Regions from separate parts of the Homo sapiens genome. Here region 1 is linked to region 2. Evidence: promoter capture Hi-C in 16 types of primary human blood cells and fetal thymus (Javierre and others, 2016). All regions are on one chromosome and are shown on one strand. The core of a region is centred on a gene start or on the middle of the fragment in contact, and the rest is flanking DNA. Distances in the headings are between cores, read along the strand shown. Region 1 has its middle 47 kb from the start of KDM3A. Region 2 holds the start of REEP1 (receptor accessory protein 1).

What was found. The method cuts DNA at HindIII sites, captures the fragments that hold promoters and counts their contacts. A CHiCAGO score of 5 or more calls a contact.
Region 1: a fragment that was not itself captured here is called in contact with the fragment with the promoter of REEP1 in region 2 in 1 of 17 cell types (total B cells); the score reaches 5.5 in total B cells.

Annotation. Positions count from the first base shown.
Region 1 is chr2:86,390,642-86,397,957 of GRCh38, reverse strand. No RefSeq gene overlaps it. Among named protein-coding and RNA genes, the nearest start is that of KDM3A, 47 kb to the left of the region's middle. The HindIII fragment of the contact is 1,867 bases long and covers 1,938-3,804 here.
Region 2 is chr2:86,331,854-86,339,055 of GRCh38, reverse strand. REEP1 (receptor accessory protein 1) reads left to right here and starts at 1,430. Exons shown (of 9, transcript NM_001371279.1): 1 at 1,430-1,577. The coding sequence starts at 1,546. The HindIII fragment of the contact is 12,312 bases long and covers 1-7,202 here.

The sequences.
Region 1 (7,316 bases), core at 1,622-4,121, 57 kb before region 2:
GTCTTTCTCCCTGAGCCAATACATTTTACCCTTGTGCCTAAGCTAATTTAAAGAGTTTTGACCAGCAAATCCTTGTAGGCAGAAGATATATTTTCTATCAATCTGTGCCTCTTGGCATCTAGAGCAAGTGAGGGTTTTAGGAAGACCTGCTGATTGATTAAAGACTAATTTATTAGACAATTATCCGAATCAAATTTAACTGAGTCATTTCTTTTCTCCAAGACAGGCATGCAAGTGTGCACGAGCATATGCACATCACATACTCACATACACACACAGACTAAGTTTGGTGGCCAGGCATGGTGGCTCATGCCTATAATCCCAGCACTTTGGGAGGCCAAGGTGGGAGGATCGCTTGAGCTCAGGAGTTTGAGATCAGCCTGGCCAACATAGCAAAACCCTGTCTCTACCAAAAAATACAAAAATTAGCTGGGCATGGTGGTGTGCACCTGTGATCCCAGCTACTTGATAGGCTGAGGTGTGAGAATCACTTGAGCCCAGGAGGAGATCTTGAGATCACGCCACTGCACTCCAGCCTGGGAGACAGAGTGAGACCTCATCTCAAACAAACAAACAAACAAACAAACAAAAATAGACTAACTTTAGCATTCCCCATTTAGCAGACCTGGAGAGTGTGCATGTGTGACCGAGTGTACGTGCACACACACACACAGTCATCCAACTCACACAATACTCTTTTCTAGGAATACAGAAAAGCTTCACAGGTCATACTGGCAAAACCAAGTTGTTTTTTCTTTCTTTTTTTTTTTTTTTTTTTTTTTTTTGAGATGGAGTCTCGCTCTGTTGCCCAGGCTGGAGTGCAGTGGCGCAATCTCGGCTCACTGCAAGCTCTGCCTCCCGGGCTCACACCATTCTCTTGCCTCAGCCTCCCGAGTAGCTGGGACTACAGGTGCCCACCACCACGCCCAGCTAATTTTTTGTATTTTCTAGTAGAGACGGGGTTTCACCGTGTTAGCCAGGATGGTCTGGATCTCCTGACCTCATGATCCACCCGCCTTGGCCTCCCAAAGTGCTGGGATTACAGGCATGAGCCACCACGCCCGACCAAAACCAAGTTTTTTAGGGAATGTTTTCACATTATGTATAAGATGGGGAAGAAAAAGAGTATTATACAGCTTTCATTTTGTTTCAGGGACTGTGCTTTGTGTTGTAATATATTTCCTCTCATTTTCTTACCACAAAATTCTATCAGGTGCACATTATTATCCCCATTTGACAGATGAGGGAGCTGGAGACATGAAGCTCAAGGCCACACAGCTGCTATCTCTATCTGGAATTCAGCATGGACCCTGGCTTGTGGACTATGCTGCCTCCCTGTGGACTATGCACTGCTCCAGAGGCAAAATGGAGACCACAACAATCCATTTCTTGAAACACAGCCTAAGTTTCTAGAATCAAGATAGGTGCATAGCTAAAGTATTTGTCTATGCAAATAGAAACGGGCACAACGGAAAGACCAGGGTCATGAAGGGAAAGTCAGCGAAGGGCGAAGGGGGTGGGGGGCAGAGAGCCAGGAGGTTTGCTGAGGCATTAACCGAGTCCCACGGCTGGCACTGGCTCTAGACTATGAGCTCACCCATACACAATGATCATGGAGCCTGTGCCACCTGATCCAGGGCTTGGCACAGGGTAACTTCTCAGTGTTTCTGACTGAACTGGGGGAGATTTATTGAATAGCATGGGAAGGAGTAGCAGTCCTCAAAATACTGCCTCCAGTGTTTTGTCCACGAAGATGAAGAAAATAACCAGATCTTGCAGCAGCACTGAAAACTACGACCAACAGGCAATCAATAGACAGATAAATTGGGATCTGATTATGAGGCAGATATAACCATTTTGAGGAAAGCACCCAAGCTACAGCTCCTGGTACGAACCCCAGCTTTGCCTTCTGAGTGCTGGATGTAAGTAAGCAAGCTTGATTCTTCCATCTAGGTTTTGTCCTTGGGCTCAGACACACAAAACATAGGAAGAACAAAAGCTGGCATTTAATCCACCCTCTAAATCCCTTGGATATTTATTTATGCACTTTGTGCATTTTTTGTACACTTCCCTTCTCTTTTATACCCTCCATTCTCACATCCCATATTTCTGGAGATAGAGGCTACCAATTCCAGGGAATGGGGCAGTAAGTGAGTCTTGTGTATGTGTATGTTGAGTGGGGGTTGGGGGAAGTGAGTGTGTGTATAGTACATCTTGGGAAGTTAGTTCTAGGAGTAAAGAATTATCGGGCCAGGTGTGGTGGCTCATGCCTGTAATCCCAGCACTTTGGGAGGCCGAGGCGGGCAGATCCCCTGAGATCAGGAGCTCGAGACCAGCACGGCCAACGTGGTGAAACCTAGTCTCTTCTAAAAATACAAAAATTAGCCAGGTGTGGTGGCAGGCACCTGTAATCCCAGCTACTCAGGAGGCTGAGGCAGGAGAATCGCTTGAACTCAGGAGGCAGAGGTTGCAGTGAGCCAAAACTGTGTGGGAGAGACCCAAAGGACCTTGCAGTAGTTCATCCAAGATATTCCATTCATTTAGGGAAACAGAGGAATGCAGACAGGGAGTATGAGAAAGCTGCCATATGGGTAGTGCAACGCTTCCCTGGGAAACAGGCAGGGAAATCAACCTACTCCAAGCTGTAGATTTGAGAAGAGAAACCAAGCACTGTGGAGATGACGACCCACAGCCACCCACCCCCAAATAGTCTGTGTGATCACACCTTGCCTTGTTTGATGCGGAGTGAAGAGAACTGGATTTATAACAACATTTAAAGTGACATTTAAATAATTTAAAACAATATTGGATTTACAACAAAATAATGATTTTTTTTTAACATAGTCTTGCTCTGTCACCCAGGCTGGAGTGCAGTGGCATGATCTCAGCTCACTGCAACCTCCACCTCCTGGATTCAAGCAATTCTCCTGCCTCAGCCTCCCGAGTAGCTGGGATTACAGGTGCGTGCCACCATGCCTGGCTAATTTTTGTGTTTTTAGTAGAGATGGGGTTTCACCATGTTGACCAGGTTGGTCTCGAACTCCTGACCTCGTGATCCACCCGCCTCAGCCTCCCAAAGTCCTGGGATTACAGGCGTGAGCCACCGTGCCCGGCCCTAGCTATCTTTCTTTTATCAATTTCTGATTTAATTCTATTGTAGTCTGAGAGCAGATATTGTGTAGTTTCTGTTGTTTTAAACTTGCTAAGATAGGTGCATGGCCCATAATGTGGTCTGCCATGGTGAATAGAATATATTTTTTACTTTTTAGTATGTGGAAAAACAGTATAATGAACTATATTTTCATCACTAGGCTTCAACTGTTATCAACACATGGCCAATCTTATTTCATCACTGGTTTCTCTCTTCCTGGCTAATTTAAAGCAAATTTTAGAAATTATATCATTTTATCAATAATTGCTTCAGTATATATTATAATGTGGGCATCACCATTGAGAATGTGGTCCTTAGGAATTCAACAAAATCATCCTGTACCAAGACCCACTGATATCCTTGCCTTTACCTACCCTACTCTATGCCCTATACCTTGGCCCAGGCTAGATGAATCTAATTTGTCTCTGTGCACTGAAAGGACTCTGCAGGTGGCTGATATAAATATGCCTTTGGGAAGCTACTTCGGGTGGCCAAGGGGACAGTATTGCAGTTGGCAGTCTGACTCCAGCTGTCACCACTTGTGAGCCATGTAGCCTCAGACAAGGCATTTAACCTCTAGAGCTGTATCAAGGTTTTTCTCTTCTGATTAAATGGAGAACATAAAACCTACTTCACCAAATTGTTATGAAGCTTAACTAAATAAAAGTGAAAGTCAGGTTAGTCATTATTATCACAGTTTATGCAGCAACACAATCATGTCAGGGAAGTCTTTAGTGTAGGGATTTCTTTTGCATACAGGAAGCCCTGTGCCAACTTTAGAGAGTCCAGAAAACCCCATGAAACCACAAGACCTAGGCACCAATTCCCAGAACAAGGCTGAATTTAGTCCCTGATAGAGTCTGAATCCTGACTATGGCAAGCTAGGCAACTCAAACTGTCCATTGTGAACTGGGCATTATCTAATCCACTGAGTCATAAAATTGGAATGTGCAGCAGTACTCAGTATAAAATGGAAATGGTGTTTACAAGATAAGGCCCAAGCAGGTATAAAAGGCTCAAGAATATTGCATAAGCAGGTGGCTCACCCTCCCACATTTTTTGCTTCTACTACTTTACCACCTCTCTCAGCCCACACCAGTGGCCTCAAGGGGAGTTGCCTAGGACTAGCTGACAGAAGAAGAAAAAGCACAGGCTTGGTTTGCAGTGGGTCTGCATGATAGGGCTGCAAGTGAACAGCTGCTGTTTTACAGCTCCCCTGAAGAGTGAGTCTGAAAGGCAAGGGTGAAAGGAAATCCTCTTAATAGGCAGAATTTTAAGCAGTACATCTGTTGTCCACTTACTGTAGAAGGCGAGATGCCCTGGAGTATGCAACTATACCAATTTATGATCAAGGATTAATGGATTAGAAGAGTGGTCACTGACTTCTGAGGAGCAAGATTGGAAGACTAGTGACAAGGAAGTCTTCAGGAAGTATGTGAATTAACTCTTCAAAACAGGCACTAAAAATGTACATATTTGTAACCACTATGAATGCTCACCAAAGGGCATCTACTGAAGAGGCAGCTCTCTGTGGTCTAGTGGAGTGCACAAAACAACCCATGTGTGGCTGAAAGTGATTTCCTTTCCCTAAACATTTTGATGCTTACTCAATGGGCCCATAAACAAAATGTCCACGGTGGCAGGGGTAGATTTTACATGAGCTCACCAAGCTGGATTCCTCTCGCCAAGATTAATCTAGCTAACGTCACTGCTGGGTGCCCAATGTTCTAACAGCAGAGATAACACTGGGGCCTCATTATGACACCTATCCTTGGGCTGCCAGCCAGCCCCAATGTCTTAGGTTGATTATACTGGACATTTTCCATTGCGGAGGAGACAGCAATTTGTCTTTATGGGAATAGATACTTATTCAAGATACGAGTTTGTCTTCTATGCCCACCATAGAAGTCCTTCTGCCAGCACCATTTGTGGGCTTAAATAATGCCTTACTCAACATCTGCAACTCACACAAAATTGCCTTTATTAAGGAGATCATTTTATGGTGAAGGGCATTCTATAGACGTGAGCTCATTACTTGTATCTATAGAATTCACTGTTTTTGCCATGTGCTACACATCACCCCAAATCAGCTGGCTTGATTAAACAGTGGAATGGCCTGTGGAGGGCTCAGTTACAGTGACAGCTGGGAGGCTAGGGTGCTGCCCCATAGCATGCAGTATATGCCATACACCAGTGGCCAAAACATGGTTATGGTCAAACTCTTTCCTAAAATTTTCCTCTGGATCTTTCAGAGGCTTTGCCTTCCTTTTAATTCTTCCTAATGCTATTTTCTCTTAAAAAATTCATCATTGGCTGGGTGTGGTGGCTCATGCCTGTAATCCCAGCACTTTGAGAGGCCAAGGTGGGTGGATCACCTGAGGTCAGGAGTTCCAAATTTCATATGGAACCAAAAAAGAGCCCATATAGCCAAGACAATCCTAAGCAAAAAGAACAAAGCTGGAGGCATCATGCTGCCTGACTTCAAACTATACTACAAGGCTACAGTAAGCAAAACAGCATGGTACTGATACTGAAACAGATATATAGACCAACGGAACAAGACAGAGGCCTCAGAAATCATGCCACACATCTACAACCATCTGATCTTTGAGGAACCTGACAAAAACAAGCAATGGGGAAAGGATTCCCTATTTAATAAATGGTGTTGGGAAAACTGGCTAGCCATATGAGAAAACTGAAACTGGACCCCTTCCTTACACCTTATAAAAACAGTAACTCAAGATGGATTAAAGACTTAAACCTAAGACCTAACACCATAAAAACTATAGAAGAAAACCTAGGCAATACCATTCAGGACATAGGCATGGGCAAGGACTTCATGAATAAAACACCAAAAGCAACGGCAACAAAAGCCAAAATTGACAAATGGGATCTAATTAAACTAAAGAGCTTCTGCACAGCAAAAGTAACTATCATCAGAATGAACAGGCAATCTACAGAATGGGAGAAAAAATTTGCAATCTATCCATCTGACAAAGGGCTAATATCCAGAATCTATAAGGCACTTAAGCAAATTCACAAGAAAATAACAACCTCATCAAAAGGTGGGCGAAGGATATGAACAGACATGTCTCAAAAGAAGACATTTATGTAGCCAACAAACGTATGAAAAAAAGCTCATCATCACTGGTCATTAGACAAATGCAAATCAAAACCACAATGAGATACCATCTCACGCCAGTTAGAATGGCGATCATTAAAAAGTCAGGAAACAACAGATGCTGGAAAGGATGTGGAGAAACAGGAACGCTTTTACATTGTTGGTGGGAGTGTAAATTAGTTCAACCATTGTGGAAGACAGTGTGGCGATTCCTCAAGGATCTAGAGCCAGAAATACCATTTGACCCAGCAATCCCATTACTGCATATATACCCAAAAGATTATAAATCATTCTACTATAAAGACACATGCACACGTATGTTTATTGTAGCACTGTTCACAATAGCAAAGACTTGGAACCAACCCAAAGGCCCATCAATGATAGACTGGATAAAGAAAATATGTCACATATACACCATGGAATACTATGCAGCCATAAAAAGGATGAGTTTATGTCCTTTGCAGGGACATGGATGAAGCTGGAAACCATCATTCTCAGCAAACTAACACAGAAACAGAAAACCAAACACTGCATCTTCTCACTCATAAGTGGGAGTCGAACAATGAGAACACATGGACACAGGGAGAGGAATATCACACACCAGGGCCTGTTTGGGGGTGAGGGGTTAGGGGAAGGATAGCATTAGGAGAAATACCTAATGTAGATGATGGGTTTATGGTGCAGCAAACCACCATGGCACATGTATACCTATGTAACAAACCTGCACGTTCTGCACATGTATCCCAGAACTTAAAGTATAATAAATTTTAAAAAAAGCAAAACTAAAGAGGTGGCTAACACAGTCATGTGGTTTGTTTAAAAAAGAAAAGAAAAGAAAAGAAAGATAGCTGGAAAATAGCCAAATACTTGGAGATTAAACAATACACTTTTAAAGAAAACATAGGCCAAAGAAGAAATCTCAATAGAGATTTAAAGATATTTTTAACTAAATAAAAATAAAAATACAACTTATCAAAATTTGTGGTATATAGTGAAAGCAATACTAAGAGGAAAATGTATAGCATTGAATTTATATATTAGAAA
Region 2 (7,202 bases), core at 181-2,680:
TCTCCTGCGCTTCTCACATCTGACACTGAATTATACATGACACCATCATCAGCAAAGGACAGGGCGCTGGGAGCACCACGCAGAACCTAAGCTATTGGAGGGTGGGAAAAGCAGCAGCAGAGCCTAGGAGTAGAGGACAAAGCGTTTCCAGTGTAACAGAATAATGTACTATCTGCGGCCGGGACTAGGGTGAGCAGAGTGAGGCGCTCAGTGAGGGTGCAACATTTAAGAGGTGCCATAAAATTCAGCAACTAAAATACATAATAGGTGGCTCACTCCTGTAATCCCAGCACTTTGGGAGGCCAAGGCGGGCGGATCACGAGGTCAGGAGTTTGAGACCAGCCTGGACAACATGGTGAAACCCCGTCTCTACTAAAAATACAAAAATTAGCTGGGCGTGGTGGCGCACTCCTGTAATCTCAGCTACTCATGAGGCTGAGGCAGAAGAATCGCTTGAACCCGGGAGGCGGAGCTTGCAGTGAGCCGAGATCGCGCCACTGCACCCCAGAGCGAGACTCTGTCTCATAAAAAAACAACAACAACAAAAAAAACCACCATAATATTTAATACGGTATTTTAAAAAATACATAAAAACGTTTATATAGGGTGCACAAGTTCCCTTTTGCCTAAGAGTTCAACGTGGCTCAGCGGGGCACTGGTGCTAAGCAGTCGCAGCTTCTAGTCTCCTCCTAGGGCCCGGAGCAGCCCCCAAGGAAAGGCCTTCCCTAGGAAGAAGTAGCCCTTCAGCCCAGCCTAGAAGAAGGAGCTGAATCAAACCAAGGCAGGACGATGAGGCGTGGCGTGTACTGACAGGGAAGAAGAAACAGCAAATATTTGAGTCCAAGATGCCTGGAGGGAAAAGAGCTAGAGGACTATTTGGGGGAATGGTCTTGGCAACACGGTTCTAGGCAGGTACCACGATCATATAGGGACTCTGTAGAATTTTAAGTAGGGAGGCAAGCGCCCAGGTTTGTTTCTTATGCAGAAAGTGCTGAGCAACGGACAGACTGAAGAGGTTAGGTCTGGATCCAGGTAAACCCTTTATGAGGCTAACGCACTAGCTGAATGAGGGATGACAGCATCCCACCTAGACAGGTGCAGACAGATTCCCGAGGTTCAGGTTCGGACTTCAGTTTCTCCGCTGGAACGCTGAGGGTGGGGCAGCACCCGGGTCCCTGCCCTGCAAACGGGGCCGCTGCAGGGTTCCTTTGGCGGGGCCGGTGCCCCGGGGAGCGCGCAGGACGCGCCCGCCTTCAGCCGGGGGCCAGGGCGAGCGGGACGGGGCGGGCCCGCGGGTGCCCTGACCAGCTCACCGCCCAATCGCTGCGGGCCCGCCGAGCCCCGGGGGGCTGGGGCCGCCGCCGCCGCCGCCAGAACGTGCCGCGGCTGCGCCAACGCGCGAACGCCGGGCAGGGCGGCGGGCGCGCTCAGTCTGGCGGCGGCTGCCGTGAGCTGACTGACGTTCCGGGAACGCCGCAGCAGCCCGCGCCGCCCGCAGCCTAGCCGAGCCGCGCCGCCCGGGCCTCGCCCGCCCGCCTGCCCGCCATGGTGTCATGGATCATCTCCAGGCTGGTGGTGTAAGTGGCCTTCTCCCCCGCGCCCCTCCGTCCCCTCCCTCCCCGCCCCCGGCCCCGGGCTGCGCGCGCCCCTACAGCGCCCGGTCCCAGTGGCTCGGGCTATTAATACCCGGCGCAGCTAAATTTAGCAGGTACAGTAGCCGCCGAGGACGCCTGCGGGCGGACGGGCGGCGCAGGACGCGGCTGCTGCCCAGGAGGCAGCCGGCGCCGGCGGCCGCTTGCGGGGGGCTGGGCCGGGACGGCGAGGGCTGGGGCGCTCGGGGGTTCCGTGGGGGCTGCGTCTCGCCGCGCGCTGGCCGCTTTGTTCCTCAGCTCGGTCGATTTGCAGAGGCCCCGAATGGGCGCACCGCGGACACGCGTCTCTCTCCTTTGGCAGAAATGTGAGGTCGCCCGGCGCCGCGCCCCGCCGCCCCAGCTTTTGTCAGGTGGAAAGGACAGCGCAGACGAACCAGGGGCGCTGCCTGGAGGGTCAGCGCGGAACGGGTGGAGAGGCAGAGGCGGGGCTCCCAGTGGGGTTGGAAAAATCCTCCTTTTTAGGTGTCTGCATCGACAGCGGCAAAGGCAGCTGGGACATGGGAAGACGCATGTGAATCTTGGAGTAAACGCCTGGAGCCCCCGGCTCCGACTCCTTTTGCAGGGGATTGAGAGACAGGGGCAGGTACCTCCAGGAATGCACGGGAAATTTTCAAGTGACAGCCACCCGCATGGTGGCGATGACACCTCCCAGGCCTTGCAGGAGAGCGCAGAGTCATCTAGGGTGAGGTCTGTGTGAAGTCATTGGGGGTGGGCGTGGGGGCCGATTTTCTCCTTCAAGCCCCAGGACCTGTAGGCGTTTGAAGAGCTTCCCCGGTGGATTTATTCTCCTTTGGAGATAGACGTGGCTGTTCCAAGTCCCTGTTCTTCCCTAACCATCCTGGCCTGAGTCAGAACAGATTTGCCACCTGCTGTAGCTAGCAGGGGCTGAAATGGGTGTGGGGAGTCTAAGGCGGGGAGGAGGGTGGCAGGCACCTCGGGCTTTTTCTTTGTCTGAGAACACGGGGCTCTGGACCCCAGTGATTGTGCACCATCACTCCCCACGTTTTGAAACACCACCCATCTCCCTTCCCTTCTTTACTGATTTTCCCTTCCGAAGTGGATCTCAGCATTGTCTCCCGCCACCATTCAGGGCTTTCCTCCCAAAGCCAGTGTCTGTGCCTCTCAGCCCCCAAGTCATTCCGTGAAGGCCTCTCCACAGCTGTTCCTGACTGCGGGGTGTTTGCGCTGCACCTTGAGGTGGCATGTTAAATATTTAGAAGATTTCTGCTGGCAGAGCCGACATGAATAATACAGGAAAGTGGCTGACACGCCTTGCCCAGCCTCATGCCTGACCAACACTGTCTTGCCTTCAGGGTGGTGTTTCCTCTCTGGGATCGATATTGCCAGTGGCTTCTGGGAAGCCCTCAGGGTGGGGCTGGAGAGTTGAGCTGGCCTGGCTGGTGGGCTCTCTGTAGGTCCTGCTGGGCTGGGAGTGAGGGCATCTGATCCTGGGTCATGTGACTATCATTAGTTTTATTAGCACTGGGTCATGTGACTATCATTAGTTTTATTAGCACCTCCCTCACCCCTGCCCTTTTTTTTTTTTTTTTTTTGAGACCGAGTCTCGCTCTGTCGCCCAGGCTGGAGAGTGCAGTGGCACAGTCTCGGCTCACTGAAGCCTCCGCCTCCTGGGTTCAAGCGATTCTCCTGCCTCAGCCTCCCGAGTAGCTGGGATTACAAGCGCCTGCCACCACGCCCAGCTAATTTTTGTATTTTTAGTAGAGACGGGGTTTCACCATGTTGGCCAGCCTGGTCTTGAACTCCTGACCTAGTGATCCGCCCGCTTCGGCCTCCCAAAGTTCTGGGATTACAGGCGTGAGCTACCACGCCCGGCTCCTCCCCCTTTTTTACAATGAGCAACTGATGGGGGTGGAGAGGAGAGGCATATATTTGGGAGGTGTCTCAGGGATGTGCTGTTGCTTTCTAAAACAACCACACTCCCTAGAACCGAGACTTCAGAGAATTTAAATGAACAGCATTATGTGGCCCAAGGAGAGTTGATGGGATTTGGGATTGTTACTTCCACTATCAAGTCCAAAAGGTCAGGGATACCACTTATCCCCCAGTCCCTAATTCCCTGTAGAAACCTAGCATAAGCATATTGATTATGAGTTATGAACATCATTTTTAATAAGCAATACCTGTTTCATGAAGACAATATTTGTTAATTACAGGAAAATTAGAAAAGATAAACTGAAAATCATCCACATTTCCACCACACAGAGATAACTAATAATAATGATGGAGGGCATATTCTTCAAGAAATTTTCCTGTATTGCATATATGTACATATATTTGTAATTCAAGGATATTATTGATTCAGCCCAATATTCTACACTCCACATACCTTGAGGAACTTCTTATCAAGGGGAGGAATACTGTGTTTGGAGTCAGAACGCCCATGGTTCAAATCCCAGTTTTGCCTCTTGCCAGAAGATCCCAGTTCACAACTCAGATCAGAGCAGATGCTAGTCCACAGCTAGTTAACCTCATGTTGCTGTTGCAAAGATTTCCATGACACTTGATATATAAATTGCCAAGCACCACGGAGAGCACTAAATCAATGATGAGTCCCTCCTTCTGTCCTCCCCGGGAACCCTATGAGAGGGGCTCTCAGACTTAATTTACTCCTGTGGTTTTCAAACTGGGTTCCCTGAGGGCCACCCAGCCTGAGCAGATGGGCTCTGGGCTCCTCATCCCTGATTCAACCCAAGCAGTTCCCTTTTTGTTTGTCTTATATATTGGGGTTCTAGATAAAATACAATTCAGAAAAATATATGTGTTTTACTGCTAATAAAAACAACTGATCTAGTCCTCCCCCTCATCTGTAAAACTGCAGAGGAAATATGCCTTGCTCAGGGACACAAGATGAGCTGGTGAAGAAAACAGGCTCTGGATTTTTAGTCCAGTCCAGTGCTTTTTCCACCTTCACTCCCCACTGAGAAAAACATCTCTTTCAAGCTCCCTAGACCTCTGGTATGGGAGCATCCTATGGTTTTATCCGCGAGTCACGTTTTGTATAAGTAATCTTTTCATGGTTTTGTAAGCCTCTGTCACATCAAAGAACATGTAAGGAAGACCTATCACTGTGTTGTGAGGATAGAGAGGGAGTGTCTTCCTGTCTTTGTGTGGTCCCAACCATCCGACCAGAGGTATCACAACAAGCTGATGGCCTCCAGGGACAGCCAGCCAGTGCTCGTGGTTGTCTCTGCTGCTACTGGCCGTGAGCATTTTGAAGAAAGCAATTGTGGCTTGTTTCCCTTTACAACCGCTTTATCCCTGCCATGGGTCTTTCACAAAGTATCTGGCACCTGAATGCACTGAGTGAAGGTTGGTTGTGTTGAAGGAAATCCTAGGCCCTGGGGACAAGCAGAGTGGCTGGCTACTGCTGTCCCCTGGGGACGGAGGTCAGCAGGCATCAAGACAGGCTTGTGCCCACGGGCAAGGCTCTTAGAGTGAGGACCAGTTTGAGATGCTTATTTCTTGCCAGCTCTCTTTCTCCTAACTTCCTTGGCTCAGCCTGTAAAGAATTAAGGAAGAGATACTCAGTGCAATAGCACTCAGAACCAGGTTGATACCTTCATGGGACACAGGGGCTTATTTAGGACTTGCCTGCTTGCCTCCTTTCATTTTCTTTACATACAACTCAAGGCCTAGGCATGAATGAATTTCAAACTGGGGAGAGCATGTTTTTGTGCACCCTTTTGGAGGGGGGATACCAACGTTGCTCTGTGACTTCTTGGAAGAATATGCCATTTTGAAGCATTATTCTAAGGAGCAGGTATTGCCTCATTGTCTTGGCCAAGGCCCAGAATGTTGGCTGAACGGATCAAGAGCTTCTCACCCCTTATGGGATTAGTAGACTAAAACCCCAGCTCACTACATGGGGGAAAGAGAGTTCTAAGTCCACAGAATTTTCTGAATAACTAATGGCTGTGCAGAAAACATTTTATTTCCACATTGCACATTTTAAAAAATACTAGTTTTTAGAAAATACAGTGTGATGATCAAGACAGAGTCTTAGTTTGATGGCTGAAGATCTGGCTAAGTTCCAGGACTGGGATTTGGAGCATGAAGTCTGTCCTGGGTCAGGGATGTGCAAATGGATGGAGCTGGGAGGAATGTGGATTGTCCTCAAGATGTTCCCCAACTGTTGCAAAACAAATGGAAAAAAAAGAAAATATCGTAAATCCTTAAATATAAGCTAGCTTTTCTTTGGGGCCTGCTTTTAAAATGTGGCATGCAGGAAACTGATTCAGTTAATGGAGGGTTCCAGTTGGTTGAGGATTGATTTCCTGGCACTGTGCTGTAGTACACTGTGGGAGCTGGGTAAATGTTTCGGTTGAATTGTGAAAGGAAAGATGTTAGGCTAGTAGGCAGCAGACATGGGTTCTAGTCCCAGTGCTGGTCTGACTCACTATCACAGTCCTAAGGGCAACTCCCACCCACCTGGGCCAGCTCCCTGTCTAAGAGACAGGTTTTTGGCCACAGTCACCTTGCAGGTCCTAAGAGCTCCAAGAGTCAGTGTTCCTCTAGGTCCCTTCCTTCCCCAGCTGGCCTGTATGCATCACATTTATTTATAAACAGGAGGAGTATCCTCAAGGAAGTGAAAAATACTAGCTTAGATTTCTCCGCTGTTGAGCTGCCCTGTTTCTTTGTTTGCTAATCCTGCCTGTCTGCTGAGAAGTAGCTTTCATGCACTTCTTCCCACTGTGTCTTATTTGAGGTTAGCTGACAAGTGAGGGTCTCACCTAGTTATTACTGGGTCAGTCTCCCCACTTCCTTCTGAAGCCCGCTATCTTTTTTGGAGGGTGTATTATGTCGGGGGAGGAGGAGCCCTGGGGAGAATGAGGGAAGGGGGACTCAGGTCCTCTTTGGCCATTTAGTGAGGCTGCTGTTTTGTGTACGTATGAGTGTATGTGAGTGAACGTGTGTGTGTGTGTGTGTGTGTGTGTGTGTGTGTGTGTTTCCAGGAAAGTTAGGGAGGCTAGGGAAAGGAGAGATATGGCAGTGCAGCAGCCATAGCACGTGGCACCTTTAGAATTTCACTGCCAGGGATGAGCCACACACATGCCCAGCTGGTTACCAGAATTCTTAGTCTGGGGGAGTTTTTCCAACCCCCGAAAAGAAGTAAGGAGAGGGGGGTGCACTTGGGCACTAAGGATGTTCTCCTCTCGATTCTGGGCCTTGGGAAGGGAATTGGGATTCTTGAGGAACTGGAAGTTGGATCATTATATTCAGAGTATTTATTCTGAATTTTCAGATCTCATCTGTCTTTATACAGAAGCACATTATTTTCACTTTGGGATTTTTAAGTCACACTGGGGCTTCCCTGGGAATACAGGGAAAAAGGAAATATAGATCAAGGACCAACTATTGGGCACACAGTAGGGATTTCAGAAGGAATCTTGAAAGGTAATTTGGTATAGGCCTTCAAGCATGCGTGGGTACCCAGACCAGGATGGCAAGTGAGGCTGCCTAGGACACTGTCTTGAGGAGCAAGAAGCTGAGTTAGGCTCAGTGGGGAAGGAGTCCCAAGAGTGCTTTATG